2 separate regions of the Homo sapiens genome follow, and region 2 is linked to region 1. The links are contacts of gene promoters, found by promoter capture Hi-C in blood cells and fetal thymus (Javierre and others, 2016). All regions are on one chromosome and are shown on one strand. Each heading gives the region's core, a stretch centred on a gene start or on the middle of the fragment in contact. The rest is flanking DNA. Distances are from core to core; before and after follow the strand shown.

Evidence for each region. Contacts are between HindIII fragments. The CHiCAGO score rates a contact against its expected background, and 5 or more counts as called.
Region 2: a contact is called between a fragment that was not itself captured here and the fragment with the promoter of AUTS2 in region 1, in 1 of 17 cell types (total B cells). The highest score is 5.0, in total B cells.

The regions. Positions count from the first base shown.
Region 1 is chr7:69,596,336-69,600,846 of GRCh38, forward strand. AUTS2 (activator of transcription and developmental regulator AUTS2) reads left to right here and starts at 2,140. Exons shown (of 19, transcript NM_015570.4): 1 at 2,140-3,627. The coding sequence starts at 3,319. CT66 (cancer/testis associated transcript 66) reads right to left here and starts at 1,289. Exons shown (of 3, transcript NR_148927.1): 1 at 712-1,289; 2 at 320-356; 3 at 1-98. RefSeq lists enhancers at 1,310-1,389, 2,570-2,619 and silencers at 1,700-2,119, 2,140-2,219, 3,384-3,453. The HindIII fragment of the contact is 6,527 bases long and covers 1-4,511 here.
Region 2 is chr7:69,823,715-69,828,225 of GRCh38, forward strand. All of the region lies in intron 1 of AUTS2 (activator of transcription and developmental regulator AUTS2), which reads left to right. Among named protein-coding and RNA genes, the nearest start is that of AUTS2, 230 kb to the left of the region's middle. The HindIII fragment of the contact is 1,567 bases long and covers 1,510-3,076 here.

The DNA of each region.
Region 1 (4,511 bases), core at 890-3,389:
TAATAAATTGAATCAGATCCCTTAGGTTAGTCACTATTCTTAAGAAATAAAGCACGAAATCAACTTGAAGTCATCTGTTGAGAAGGCCGTGGATAGACCTGAAAAGGAACATTTTGAACATTTAATTGAACCTCTTTGATTTACAGATGAAAAAACTAGTCATTTAAAAAAGTCTTGCCTAAGGTCAAATGTTTTGTTTCCTGGACTGGCATAAAGCTCATCTGTCACAGTCGGGTGGATGTTCCTTTCTGTTCCTGGCAACTTGACCCCCCCGTCCCCCCAACCCCATCTCTCCATCTGATTTCATAAAGATCCAGACCTGGGATTCAGAAACGGGGAAGCTGAAGGAGTGTGACCTAAAACAAGAGAAAGACAAGCTATTAAATTGTTATTAGGAATTATAAGACGAGAGAGGCTTGCCTGCTAGAACGTCAAGAAGCAGTATCTTTTCTGTTTTGTACAACGCTGTATTCCCAGCACCTACAACTGTGCCTGCTAAGCCTGGTAAGGCCTAATAATTGTTAAATGAAAAACAATCAATCACTCAATCATAGATGTGTCAGATTGTGAGAGAAAACACGTCCTTACTGTTTTCTCTACCACCCTCCTTCCAGTAATACTAATAAAATGTGCACATTTGTATTCTAAAGAGGTGAAATCATATACACAGCGCTCTAGCACGGTGCCTGGCCCATTGTAATTAATACATGCCAGTTTATTTTCCTTTTCTTCCTCCACAAGTATGGGCTACTAGGGAGGACGAAGGGTTGGTGCCGTGGTGTTTATGTGCCTGGACAGAAAGTGAAGCGTATCCAAGAGGCTGCTGAGAGCGGGCTGTCGGTCTTTCTGATCCGTATAGATCAATTCCAGTGCCCTGAAAAACGCACAGCTATTTTACCCAGAGAGGCTGGTCGCTTTTGTTGATCGATTCTCGGCTGCAGTCAGCTCTTTAATACAACTTTTTATGAGCATCAGCCACATTGCGGCGGGAGGAGGGGCTGTGGTGGAAAAAGCAGGGAAACCGCCCCCCACTCCCAAAAAGTAAAGGAAGCCCGCGGGGCAGGGACTGCGGTTTGCCGGTCTAACGGGTCCTCGAGCTGGGGCGGCGGTCCCGGCCCCTTCGGCCCCGCCCCTCGCCCGCGGCCGCCTCCGAGGTTCAAGTTCGGCCCCCGGCTGTTAGGCCTCGCGCTCCCGGATCTGAAGCCGCCCGTGCGTCCCTAGGTCCCCCGCTGGAAGACGAGGCGGGAATCCCAGGGGTCATCCGGGCGCGGGGTCGCTCGTCCACGCACTGTGGTGCCACGTGGAGGAAAAGTTTCCAACTCTGCCAGTTGGTGCTCCCACTGCGCCCAGGCGGAGCAAAGGCCCGCGCTTTGGCACCCGCTCCCCGTTCTGTCTCCTCCAGTCGCGCCCCCTCCCAGGGACGCCCCCCTTGTACCCCTTCTCTGAATTCCCTTCTCTCCTCGCAGCGCAGGTAGCCAAGGGAAAACACCCTTGGGGGCTGGTGGGGCTTCCCGAGAAGGCGGCCTCGGGCCGGCCAGGGGTAGAGGATCCAGGGACAAGTGTCCCGAGGAGGATGTGGGGGGCGCGCGCGCGAAGTGGCCTGGGAGCAGGGGCCCACACGCGTCCCCGCTGCGACAGGCGGGATCCTCCGGCGGCTTCCACGCCCTGGCGCGCCAACTCTGCCCGGCCGCGGCCGACCCCACGCGGGCGCCCCCTCCACGCCCCCGCCCCCGCCCCCCTCACAGCTCCCCACCGCCCCCAGTGCGCAGGCCCGGCCGCCCCAGCGCGCATGCCCTGGGCTCGCGAGCGCGGCCAGCCCCCAGCCTTTTGCTTTCTACACACTCTACAACTGGGGAGGGGGCGGGGGAGGAGGGAGCCCAGCCGTCCACGTGATCCCGCCGGCCGGGGCCGCGGGGGCGGGAGCGCGCGCCGAGAGAGGCGCGGGGAGGGCGGGTGCGCGGGAGCGCGCGCACTCGAGCGAGCGAGCGAAAGCACGAACGAGCGAGCGAGCGAGCGAGCGAGCGGGCGGGCGCGGGGTTGGGCTGAGGCGGGCGGCGGCGGCGGCGGCGGCGGTGGGCTGGCCGCGGAGGGGGAGGAGCGGGAGCTGCGCGAGGCAGGCGGGCGGGCGGAGGATGGGGCAGTGCCCGGGCTCCCGCTGCAGCCGCCCGGGGACACGCCGTGCACCCTCCGGCTCGGGGCTTTCTCGGCGGCGGCGGCGGCAGCAGCAGCAGCGTTAGCGGCGGCGGCGAGAGCAGCGTTCCCGGCTGCGCTTCTCCCTCAGGCGGGGCGGCGAGAGAAGCGGCGGCGGCGGCGGCGGCACACCGGTGTCTCTCCCGCTGGAGATTTCTTTCTGCTTTCCTCATCGACTGACTGACTCACCCCCTCCCTTTTTTGAGGAAGGGTGACCTCTTCTCTGGGACTGGAAAAAATATTTTTGTGAGGAGGGGGGCGGGTGGCAGCGACAGGGTTTGCTTCTTCTCTTCTTTCATCTCCCTCTCCTCCCCCCTCGAAGACCGAAAAGCAAACCCCACAACTGCTCCAGCAGCATCCTCCTTCCCTTCCTCCGCCTCCCTTCTCCTCCGCCGCTCGCAGTTTCGCCCTCTCTTCCGCTAATGATTGCATTATTATGCTCCCCTCTCTGGGGGGTCTCGCCCCTCTTGGGTCGCTCCGGAGCCCCGGCCTCCCCTGGCTGCATTTCTTAAAAATTTGGGAGCCTGGGAGTGAGTTTTCTCCGAGGCGTGTGTGAGAGGCGGCGGGGGTGTTTTCCTGCGCGAGGGGCGGGTGAAGTTCATTGCCCCCACTTTTCCCGCGACCTTTTTCGGACCCGATTTTGGATCGAGTTGAGGGGGGCGCGGGCGTTTTCGGGGGGCGGGGGGCGCGGCGGAGAATGGCCGCGGGGAGGGCTCCCCGGAGCCTCCCAGTCTCTTGATCAAAGCATTCCGCTATTCTGATTTATTGCTTGCTTGGTGAGTTATTTTTTTTTCCTCTAAAGGAGACCTGTGTGTTCAGCCATTACTTTGCTCGGCGCTGCTCCCAGGCATCTCCGACCCTCGGTGCTGTGGGGAGCCCCACACTTGGGCTCCTCGCCTCTCGCCCTCGCTCCCCGTCCCTCCTCCCCTCTCTCCGCCCCTTCCCCCTTTTCTTTCTCCTCTCTTTCTTCCCCTCTCTCCCTTCTTTCGGCCGCCGTCTCCCCCGCGCCCTCCTCGGGGCGGAGGGAAGCCGTGAAGGGGGAGGGAGGGCTCGGTGTCAATTTTTTTTTGTGTGGCTGCGGCCGTAGCCTGTGGCGGGCAAGCGGGGAGACCCCGGCGCAGCAGAACCATGGATGGCCCGACGCGGGGCCATGGACTCCGCAAAAAGCGGCGGTCGCGGTCGCAGCGAGACCGGGAGAGGCGCTCCCGGGGCGGGCTGGGGGCCGGCGCGGCCGGCGGCGGCGGGGCTGGCCGGACCCGGGCGCTCTCACTCGCCTCGTCGTCGGGCTCCGACAAGGAAGACAATGGGAAGCCCCCGTCCTCCGCCCCGTCCCGGCCCAGACCCCCGCGGAGGAAGCGGAGAGAGTCCACCTCGGCAGAAGAGGACATCATTGATGGATTTGCCATGACCAGCTTTGTCACTTTTGAAGCGCTGGAGGTAAGGGGGACCCCCCTTCCCCCGGGTTCCCTTTATGCACGACCCCACTCGGCTGCGCCCGGCTCTCCTGCCTCCCTCGCCGCGCTCCGGGCTGTCTGTCTGTCTGTCTGTCTGTCTGTCTGTCTAGGCTGAGGTCTTATTGTTGGTGGGGGGAGCTGGGGGCGCGGGCAGACAGGCAGCAGGAGGGAGTCGCAAAGCCGTGCCTGGTCTCGTTTCCTCGCTCGCCTTTCCCCTGCGCCCCCTCCCTGCACCCCCTCCACAGCAGATGGGCAGAAAGAAAGGGGTTCGGGCATCACAACAATGCGCCCCCTCTCCACAGAGAGCTCTGCCCCCACTCCTTCCTCCTCTCCCTCCCCAATCATGGCTTCTTGGCTGGTGGAAGTCTCTTTGCTGGGTTTGGGGCGCCTGTGGACGGTTCTGTGTGCTTTCTACAGAGTCATATGTTCGTGTGTGTGTGTGTGTGTGTGTGTGTGTGTGTGTCTGTGTAGTATATACCTTTCCCGGGTGTCCTCGGGACTGGAGACTGATGGGGTTTTGTGATTTCTTTGCGCCTCCCCCCATTACCCCCCCATATTCTTTTTTTTTTTTTTTTTTTGGTGAAGCTGGGGAAGGGGGCGTTTTCTCCTGGTTGGGAGAAAGGAGGGAGGAGGGGAGAGAAGAGGGAAGGGTGGAATAGCTCTCTGTATTCTGTATGGGGTTCTGTTACAGAAAGGGTTAATTATAATATTATCTATACACATACATAGGCACATGTGTGTGTGTACATGAGCAATTTAGTTAAAGGACAGAAAAAGGTACACCAGGGAAGACTGGTGGGAGGGAAGAATAAAATCCTAGCTGCTATCTGAAGGGCTTGTCACCAATTGTCCCTCTCCCTTTCCTTT
Region 2 (4,511 bases), core at 1,043-3,542, 230 kb after region 1:
TGCACATAAAAGGAAGCACTTACTGAATACAGGAAAAAATCATGATTGCTAGGTGGAAAAAAAAACAAAAAACCAGCAAGAGGAACTCAGTTACCCAGGGAAAATGTAAACGTTTCATATGAACATTGACAGTGAAATGGATTTGATGAGTTTTGAGGTGATTTTGTTAGATACTTTGAGAGAAATTGAGAATTCTGTATTCCGAAGAGACAGCCGGACTTGAAACTCTAGAGGTATGATTTTGACCAAGACCTGAACTTCTCTTTGCCTCAGTTTTTTCATCTATAAAATAGGGTTAGTAATAATACCAACCTCACTGAGATATTGTGAGGATTTTGTGAGATATTGTGAGATTGAATGATTAGCTTAGTCACTGGATGTAAGTACTCAAATTATAGCTATTAATAAGTGTGATACGGCTGGGCACGGTGGCTCACGTCTGTAATCCCAGCACTGTGGGAGGCCGAGGTGGGCGTATCACAAAGTCAGGAGTTCGAGACCATCCTGGCTAACACGGTGAAACCCCATCTCTACTAAAAATACAAAAAATTAGTCGGGCATGGTGGCACCTGTTGTCCCAGCTACTCAGGAGGCTGAGGCAGGAGAATGGCGTGAACCTGGGAGGCGGAGCTTGCAGTGAGCCGAGATCGCGCCACCGCACTCCAGCCTGGGTGACAGCGCGAGATTCTGTCTCAAAAAAAAAAAAATAAGTGTGATACTTAATGTCATAAATCATTGTTATTATTTCTGAGAACTGATATCTTGTGGTCCATTGTTGTGGCAGAAGTATAATTTATATAGGAACCGAAACCAGCCCTCGATTTTTTTTTTTAATCGCCGATCTTGGTTGGGCTTCACTATCATTTTCATCAGCTTCACAACCCCTCAGTTCTGAGAACCCTCCTTGCCATACAAGCCACTGGAGTGTCTGCGTTTCCTTTCTGTGGACATTGTCACCTTTCCCTTCATTTTGGTAAGGCCATGGAAACAGAGCAATCAGATAAAAGACCTGGGCATTTGGCACTTTCATTGGCCATACTTCTCCTTCTGGCTTGAGTTTATATGTGGTTTGGGGTAGTTACTGGTGAAATTGAGCTTTGCAGCTGTCTACTTAATCTGCATTTCCTGATCTGCTTTGGCTGGCAATCAAAAGCTGTATCTATTTCGGAGATTGCGCAATAAGACTTTTAATGACAAGTTAAAAGACAAAGGGTTGGTGGGATTGAACCTTATGCAGAAAATACTTCACTATACTTCGGTGGCTCCTGTTTACTGGTGATTTTGTGTGGATAGTAACTTAAAATCAAGAAACATTTTTGCTAACATATTTCCTGGGCCATTTTAGAAAGAAATTTCTTTATTTAGCCAGTAAGTAGAGCTTTCTTTAGCGTTTACATAGTTATCTTTTTAATATTAATTTTTGCAATCCATATGAATGAGGCCACATGTCCTTTAACAATTTTAGACCTCTTCTGTTATGCATTACTGCCATCTGTCAGTATGAGAGAAAGCTTCCTGGGGCAGAAGGACTTAAAACAATGGTTCTCAACCCTGGGGTCACATTAGAATCACTGGCAGAGCTTTTAAGAAATTTTAGTGCCTGGGCCAGTTCCAGATACATAGTTGCTCTGGGATGGGGCCCAGGCATTGATGTTTTTAAAAAACTCCCTAGGTGATTCTAGGGTATAACTGGGCTGAGAGGCTCTCCTCCGAAAGCACTGTCTTAATGGAAGAACCAGTGGCATGAGAACAGTTCTGCTTTTTCTCAGCAGTAACCTTGTTGTCTTCCATTGCAGTGCTGATTTTGACAATGGAGCCATGCGGTTGTATTTGGGTAGCGGTTTGGAGGGTAACAAGTGTGTCTTTTGTATCTCTGAATCCTCTGCAGCCAGTCTAGTGCCTGGCATATACTAGATGCTCACTATCCTCCACTTCACTTCTTTTGGATGACTAAATAATGGAATGGAGCCCAGATGTACTAGCCTTTTTACTTAATCCCTGAGCCTTTCTCCTTCAGTGGTCCGTAAGGGAGCAGGTCCACAAGCATACACTTTTATTGTTCCAGGAGGAGGAAGACGCCCAGCTTCGGAATGCTTGAGGCATAAAACTGATCCTTGGTTAAGATCAGCAGAGGCTTGCTGTGTGCAACATAAATTGTCAGGTAAAGAAGCAATTAACGTAGTGCCATTTATTTCCTCTTTAAGCATCTAGTCCTTATGAGTGTTGTGGTTCTGCACTCCAACTGGAAACAGGTTCTCTATTGCCCTGTTTTGCTCTTAAACACAGACACCTTTTTCAGTCAAGAGAATTAGGGCCTTTTAAAAACTCTTCTTTCTTTCTTTTCCTTTTTAGGTAGCCCATATTGAATCAGGTCCTGCAGCTATAGTTATTCATGCAGGGAGAATTCTATGAACACAGGGGAGAATGGCCTGGGAGTTTGATAATTTGTTATTTTTTGGTTTGTAGATTGAGAAGTATATTAAGTAAGGATAACCCCTTATAGTTAGTTAGTTATTTTATAGTTTTCCTGTCCAGAAGGTTTTAATCTCTCACACGGCTGTGGACTGGCAAAGTAACTAATTATTGTCTCCAGTTTATGGATAAAAAAATTTAAGATGCGGCAAGGTTAAGTGACCTGCCTAAGGTGATAGACCTGGGCCTTGAATCCACAGCTTTTGACTGTAAATCCCTTCAGTACACTGAGCTTTGGATAGTACTTTTGCTTGGATTAGAACACCCTATAAATGTGACTAATGGCATCTCAGGGTTCTGTCCTGGCTGTCATAGTTGAATCCTTTATTTGCATTGCATGTGCTTGCTTGTGTGTGTGCGTGTGCAACTATTAATATTAAGCATCTTGCCATTTGCCTCTGTAGAGCACAGTTGATAGACGGGAATATACACTTGATGTAGTCAAGAGAGTGTCATCTTTTATTAAGAATTCTGATCTTGCCTCTCCAAAATGCCTACTTTCACTTTTAGTCTATTGTAAGTGTGAATATTTGTGTGTGGTATTTTATTCCTAGGCAAGGTGTTTTTCTCAGTCTATGTTGTGTGTCTAGGATGATAATGTTAAAGCTTAATATATTTAGTTTTGGAAGACTACATTTTTCTGGGGTGGTTTATGAGTTGTTTTCCTTCCTCCAACAAATTATTGAGTGTCTAGTATGTGTTCTATGCTGTCTACCTTTACTTCCATCTCAAGGAAGTCTAGGATAAAAATAACATTGTTTATCTGTGAAGGGATAAAGAGTCAACACCCATTTCATGTCAGCTCTGTCTTTATTAGGCATTTGGCTATTGAGCTTTCTAATTTCTTGACTTTTGGGAGTGTTTCTCCCAGTTACCAGACAGGTCCAGGGTGGGAAATGCTTTCCTTGGGCCCCAGAACTAGCTCATGGAGAGGTGGTTGTAGCTTCTGGGAATTTTGAAAAGAGCCACACCCAGGAATCTGCTTGGACTATGTGTTCTTTCTGTCCTGCCTTTACTCTCCTCTTTTCTCCCTCTTATAAGCAAAGCGTCTTTTTGCTTCCTTGCCCCCAATCCCAGAGAGACTGTTAACTTATGTTTGCATGTAAGGAGAACAGTCAGAGTTAAGGATCTCAAACTCAGGAAAGTGGTTTTTGTACTCAAGAGCTCCCTGTGTGTTTGCGCAGCACACTTACCTCCATCCAGGATGCACTTATCCTGCGTAGATGGATTGTAACCGTGATAGAGGGGGAAAAAGAAGAGGGGAAAAAAAAACCCCTAAAAAAACCCTGGATTCTGAAGATGGCTGCAGTATATTCTTCAATAGAAATTTGAAGCATGAAGTGGATTTTAGAACACCACATGAAGCTCTTCTTACTTAAAACACAAGAACTTAAAACTTGGCCAGGGGAAAGGTGTAGGGAGGTGGAGAAAAGCACTCCTTCCATTTAAGGGGAAGTAAGCACTTGACTTCATCAATTGTGGTTAAGATAAACAAAGCTTATCTTTTTGGTTGGCATCAGAAGGGGCATTTAAAGTCTCATGAAATGAGAGAAGGGTTGTTCTGTTCCTTATTTACTGTACTTGAACGGAGTCACTGAAAACCTTGATGGGATGTCTCTATGACTGCTCATTCCTAGTTGTCTGCAGCACTGTGGCCAGTGAATATGCTGGTTCCCACAGAGGAAGGCCCACAGCATGGTTTCCTTCCTCTTCTTTTAATTTTGCCTCGTGTCTTTTGTAGACGAGAGTGCTCTGCAGTAATTCTTTTGTAGAAACTGCCATGCCTCAAATCACATTACATAATACAGGCTGGGGACCAGCATTCCGTGAGGACTTGATCAATGGGTTGGGAAACAAGGTTGATAGCATTGCTGTGGAGGAGATGTCAATGCGAATTTGTCAGCTCACCTCACATCCTTGCTTGCAGAACTTTGATTTTATTTAGGTGTTCACTTCCATGTGGACTTGAGTTCAGGGGGGTACATCTTGATTAGTCTATTCCAGTCATTATATTTCTACTCCTTGTCAGTGATGGGCTT